Regions from separate parts of the Homo sapiens genome. Here region 2 is linked to region 1. The links are contacts of gene promoters, found by promoter capture Hi-C in blood cells and fetal thymus (Javierre and others, 2016). All regions are on one chromosome and are shown on one strand. The core of a region is centred on a gene start or on the middle of the fragment in contact, and the rest is flanking DNA. Distances in the headings are between cores, read along the strand shown.

Evidence for each region. Contacts are between HindIII fragments. The CHiCAGO score rates a contact against its expected background, and 5 or more counts as called.
Region 2: a contact is called between a fragment that was not itself captured here and the fragment with the promoter of IQSEC1 in region 1, in 2 of 17 cell types (naive B cells and total B cells). The highest score is 5.7, in naive B cells.

What each region holds. Positions count from the first base shown.
Region 1 is chr3:13,071,999-13,075,063 of GRCh38, reverse strand. It overlaps IQSEC1 (IQ motif and Sec7 domain ArfGEF 1), which reads left to right and starts at 1,635. Exons shown (of 14, transcript NM_001134382.3): 1 at 1,635-2,072. The coding sequence starts at 2,050. RefSeq lists silencers at 1,260-1,439, 1,560-1,719. The HindIII fragment of the contact is 20,266 bases long and covers 1-3,065 here.
Region 2 is chr3:13,256,218-13,259,282 of GRCh38, reverse strand. It overlaps a transcript of IQSEC1 not described here. Among named protein-coding and RNA genes, the nearest start is that of NUP210, 160 kb to the left of the region's middle. RefSeq lists enhancers at 1,564-2,064, 2,065-2,565. The HindIII fragment of the contact is 751 bases long and covers 1,256-2,006 here.

The DNA of each region.
Region 1 (3,065 bases), core at 386-2,885:
ATATGGATTCACCTGGAGAGGGCAGATCGGGAAGCGTCATGCAGTTCTGTTCGATGCCTCACCTTGGCCACCTGAGGCCGCAGCTCCAACCTCTGCTCCCTACCAGGACACTGAGCTGGAAGACTGGGGTCCTAGTCCCACCTCTGCCACTCTTTGCTGTGCAACTTTAGGCAAATCGCTCACCCCCTGAGGTTCATTTCCTCCCCTGTAAAGGATGGAATGGAACTCAAGGATGCAGCATCACTCCTTCTAAATTCGGTGAGTGTGAATCTGGAGAGAATGGAAAGAGGAAGGGAAATGGCCCTGTGGGCTGCCATCCACATCCAGCCGATTCCCAGTCTCAACTACTCCCTCTCTCATTTATTCCTCCCAGTGAGGCAGCTTTCAAGCAGTCAAGAACCAAGACTCTGGAGCCAGACTGCCCGCCAGCTATGTGGCTTGGGCCAGTTGCTGAACCTCTGGCTTTAATGCGCTCCCCCGTGAAGTAGGATGATAGTATTAGGCCTCATTGGGGTTGTCTTGAGGATTACCGTGCACGGAAGAATATTATCTACATGCCTCTGAGATAGGTCTGGGATTCCTGGTTTACAGATGAGGAAGCAGAGAGGATCAGATGAACATCAGACAGGAAGAGAGAAATCTGTGTGGGAAAGGCGGGTGTGGGAGCCGAGGATGGATGTGCGCTTCTCCCCTCCACCTCCCTGTCGCACACTGCACCACGCTGGCCTCCTCTGGGCCAGTCAAATACACCAGGCTGCCTTCCGCCTCAGAGCCTTGACGCCAGCTCCTCCCCTGCTTCTTGCGTCATCCGAGTCTCAGCCACACGTGCCTCACAGAGGGCCTTCCCGACCACCCCGTCTGATGGCAGAAGCCTCCTTCCCGCCTCTCTTGGGGTCCCTGCCTCCCCTCTTCCTGCTCTCTTTTCATCCTGATCCTTATCACCACGTGCAATCCTATATCTGCACACTTACTTCCTGGCTTCCCCTTAGACTGTAAACATCATGAGGGCAGATACTTGCCCGGCACATGGAAGGTCCTCGGGAGAGGAAGAGGCACCATAGCTAGACCAGAAATTCTCCCTAGCCACGTGCAGCCCCCTTTGGGACAGGACTGGCACAAACGAGGACTGCTCTGCCATCCACCGTGCAGCTACTGGCGTGGTGCGCCCTCCTGGAACCCCGTGGTATAGCTGTTATGATCCCTTTCACAGTAGCATAATCAAGACTCCCAGGAGAGACGCGGCTTGCCAAGGTCTCATCGCCCTTCAGTGGCAGAGACAGCCTTGGAGTCGGCCGGCCTCACTCCAGGGCCAGAGCCCCGAGAGCTCCGCGGCTCGCGTGTCTCAGTGCCGAAGGCAGAAAAGCCGCCTTGGAAAGTAGTGTCATCGTAGGCTCCGCGCGGCGCGTGCATTTTAGCAACAGACTTCCAGGTTTCCAGCGCGGGCCAGGAAGGGGCCGGCGCCCCGCGCCCCGCCGGGTGTGTGACTTTGCCGCGAGGGCGCAGCCGAGCGGCCGCGCCTGATGCTGCTGTTGCCATGGCGACCAGCGCCTCGGCGATTGGTCCGGCGCGGCCGCACTACGTTGCTCCTTGGGCGCGGGGGGTGGGGGAGGCTCCGGCGCGCCCGCCCCTTCTCCGGATGCTGCGAGAGCAAACCCGGGGCAGCCTTCTCTCGACCCTCCCCTCCTCATCCCCGCGCCCCGCACCCCGGATGGACGGGAGGGAAAAACCCCAAGGTGGGCCCAGGTAGCAGCGAGGTGGACGCCCCCGCCCAGCCTGGCGACCACGGTTACTCGACGTCCTCGCTCGCTCCTGGGCACGGTGTGAGCGCGCGCTACGTGCCAGGGCCCTCCACAGCCCGCTGCTGGCGCCGCCCCCCGCTCCCGCCCCAGCCTCCCTGGAGGAGCCCGCCACCCCCGGGAATGTGACTCGCCCCGCGATTTAATTTTATTCCCCTCCACTTCTTGCCTGAGCCGCCTGCTCCTCTTGGAAACACGTTGAGCCTCCCCGCTGGAGAGGGAGCCAGAACAGGGAAGAACGGATTCACACAGGATGGCTTGCAGAAGACGCTATTTGTGAGTATATGTGGCAGGTTTCTGCCTGAAGCCAGAGGCCAGAGGGGCCCGGCTGAGCTGGGAGCTGGAGTGAGGGGCATCGTTGGGGGAGGGGCAGGTGGATGTGCAGGTGACTTGCAGAGGGAGCTGGCCACCCAGCAGGGATGCCGGCGCTCGGCCCCTGCAGCGGAGGTGTTTGTTGGTGATGACGATGAGAAAAAGGCTATTAGTCAGCAGGTCTTCAGCAGGCTGTGAAATTCCCAACTGTGAGAGCAGGTATCCCCCCTCCCAGATCCACATTCAGGGTGCCCAGACCGGCTCCTACTGTTTTGGCTTTGGTTTAGCCCATAGCCTGTTTAGGAAGAGAATCTCTGCCCAGCACGCCCATGGCCAGCCCTTCAGCCATGCCTGATAGAAGGTCGCAGGCAGGCTGAGGCAGTGGCCAGGATGCTGCGTCCTCCAAGGGCAGGTGAAGGTCCAGCCCACCGTCCCTAGCACGGAGGCATCAGTGTCCAGCTGTGTGCCCAGGTGTTCTGTGGGCTGGCAGCAGAGCGGCTGTGTGCTGGGCCTCACGCCAGCAGCAGAGGCTGTGAAAGTCTGCACGGGGCGGTGACATCACGGGCCCGGGTATTTATGGAAACCAAAGCCTGCGCTTCGGTTAGCCAGGCTTCCCAGGGGGCAGTGGGGTTCGAATGCCAGCTTCCCTCACAGCTCTCTGGGCGCTGCACTGTGCTGTTCTAGGAGGAGCAACCTTTGCCCTCCTCTGGGACCCTCGGCTGCGGGGGTTGAGGCCCAGCGTCAGGTCTCCACCTGCCTAAACTATTTGCCCAGGACCCACTCATTTGGGGCTGTGCAGTGACCTCAGACCTTAGGAGGTTAGAGAGCATGGCTGAGTCCTCTTGAGCTGGGCTCAGTCGCAAGGCTAGGAAAAGGAGGCCTGGAGCAGTATGTGGGGAGCCTTCTGGGGGCTACCCCAAGGCCTCCCTAATCGATGGAGGCCCCTTACCATGGCAG
Region 2 (3,065 bases), core at 382-2,881, 180 kb before region 1:
CATTCATTAGAACACCCATCAACTATTTACAGAGCACTTCCTCTTGTCCAGGTCCTGCTCCAGTGGAAACTGTCCCGTCCCAGGGCCTGCATGGCAGAGGGTGGTGGAGGTGGAGCGGTGTGGCCCAGTGGGGGCAGTTGGGATTTTTTTCTGGCTGCTGTGGGGAAGCATTGGGAAGATTTGAGCTTGGATGACAGGGTCCAGTTTATCATGTTGAGAGACCTCTCTGGCCATGGTGTGAGATAGACTATAGGGAAAGAGGGTAGGGGCTGTGCTGAGGCCCAGGGGAAAGATGATAGGTCTTGGGCCAGGGAAGGGGATGGAGGTGGCAGAGCCCAGACTTGGGGGCCGTTGTGAGGCAACACCTGCCAGAATCCCAGATGGAGTGGGTGATGCTGTGGAATCCTGGGGTTCCCTAGGTTCCTGGAGGTTACTGGTGCCAGCCCCTGTGGGGTGGGGAGGGGGGCGAGGGTGCGATTCGCAGCGTGAGAGGCTGCTTTTTCCCAGCTGGTTGTGCTCCTCACTGGCTGCATTCCATTATCTTCTCTGGGTTCTAGATTTATTTTTATTTTTACTTATTTATTTATTTAATCTTTATTTTCAGGATCTCATGCTGTTGCCCAGGCTGGATTGCAGTGGCACAATCATAGCTCACTGCAGCCTCGATTTCCTGCGCTCAAGTGATCCTCCCACCTCAGCCTCCTGAGTGGCTGGGACTACAGGCACATACCACCATGTCCGGCTAATTTTTTTAAAATAATTTTCTAGAGATGGGATCTCACTATGTTGCCCAGGCTGGTCTGGAACTCCTAGGCTCCAGTGATCCTCCCATCTCGGCCTTCCAAAGTGGGAGGATTACAAGTGTGAGCCATCACACCTGGCCCTGAGTTCTAGATTTTTTAAAAGGTTTTTTGTTGTTGTTGTTGCTGTTTGTTAATAGTCTTTACTTTTAGAGCACTTTAGGTTTACAGAAAAATTGAGCAGTAAGTACAGTGAGTTCCCATGCTCCTGCCGTCCCTGTTCCCTCCATTATTATCTTGCATTAGTGTGGCACATCTGCCGCAATGGATGAACCCACTTTGACACATCATTATTACCCATAGTTCATGGTTCACCACGGGCTTGTTCTGCCATTGTGGCATCACACAGAGCAGTGTTTCTGCCCCCGCCCCCCGCAAAATCCTCTGTGCTCTGCCTGTTCATCCCTCTCTCCCTCCAGGTCACCTTCTTTCACTTAGTCATATGCATTGAAGCTTCCTCCATGGCTTTTTATGGTTGATAGCACATTTCTTTTTAGCACTGAATAATATTCCATTGTCTGGATGTAGCACAGTTTATCCATTCACCTGCTGAGGGACATCTTGGTTGTGTCTAAGTTTTGACAGTCATGAATGAAGCTGCTATAAACACCCATGTGTAGGTTTTTGTGTGGACATACATTTTCAGCTCCCTTAAGTAAACAGCAAGGAGTGTGATTGCTGGGCCGTGTGGCAGGGGCGTATGTAGTTTTGTAAGAAGCTGCCAAACTGTCTTCCAAAGTGGCTGTGCCGTTTTTAATTCCTGGGCTTCTAGATTTTGGACCCCTTTAAGGGGCTCCGGGTTCAGAGGATTTCACAGGCTGTAGTGCCCCACCCCATTTCTCAGACCAGCTGCAGGGTGCGGAGCCCTACCCAAACTGAGTGGTCTCAAGTGAGCTCAAACGAGGAAGATGTCCCGAGTCTCCCTGAGGCTTCGTGGACTGCACCAGGCGGGGGCGGGAAGGGCTGGGGCAGTGCAATGAGCACCAGCCAGGGTTAGTCTGGTTGGGGGTGATGCTGATGTGTTCAACTCAGCTAGGAGGGCCATGTGAGGGAGCCTAGCGAGGTCACCAAATGTGGGACCCACAGCGTGGGGTTCAGTGTGGGCTGAGAAACTGGGTGTCCTTGGGAACGTCCTGCCTAGCCGGAATGTTATGTCTTCTGGAGAATGTCTGTCTGTCTGTCTCATATGCATGCACTGGGGAAGCTTCTCAGGGGCAGCTTACATGTGAAATCATGCCCGTGAGAATGACCACTTGGAAACGTTCGTCCTGAGGCCCCTGAGCTGTGAGGTGTGTCTCTGTGCCATCCTGACTCCCTTGTAGTCTTGATTGGACTGAAGTGCTGCCCTCCCTGACCCTCACTGCGTGCCTGGCAGGGTGGTGAGCAGTTTATACTCGCTGCCTCCCTTAATCCTCATGGCAGCACCAGAGGTAGGTTTTATTTTTTCTTTTTTACAAAAGGGAAAACTGGGCACAGAGAGGTTAAGGAGCTTGTCTGTGAACACACAGCGGGTTGGCTGGGATATGGGGCAGAGCTCCAGGCCTGTTTTTGGGTTGGGGAGCAGGGGAAGATAGGGGCCGCTGGCTGCTGGTGCTGCACCCGCTGCTGGTGCTGCACCCTCTCCCCAGGGTAGGTGAGGCTCTCCCTCTGCTCTCCTCCAGGGTCCCTCTCCCCTTCTCGTGCTTTGCGTCTCTCCATGGTGTTTGCCACCTGACGGGTCCTCCAGTTTGTCCTTTTGGTTTCTGTCTGTGGTCCACTTTCTATCTTCCCACCATGGCCTGGGGTCCCGGAGGGAAGGGTTTCTGTCTGCCTGGTCCCTTCTGCATCCCCAGCGCTTGCTCAGTGACTTTGGTTGAGTGAGATATCCCGAAGGCTGCTTTGGGGTTGGTGAGGTCAGCTCAGGAGGGTGTGGCTCTTAGGAACCCCAGTTCCCCTGGGCAAATCACTGGGCTGCCCTCCAATCAGTTTGCTTATCTGTCAGGTGGGGGATAAGGATGGGGCTGATGCCGTGGGTTATAACCACAGTTGGTACTTGCTGAACAGGCAACTTTGTGAAATAATTAAAATTATGTAGTTACATATAATTATATATGATATCATTATATCTGATGTGTCATAGATTTTTTTATGGTTAAAAGATAAATAACACAAAGTGTTTATTTACCATTTTAGCCATTTGAAGTGTGCATTCAGTACCGCAGATCACCGTGTACAGAAGAATGTGGGAACATGTCGTGGACAGTGCACCTGACACTCAGTGTGCAG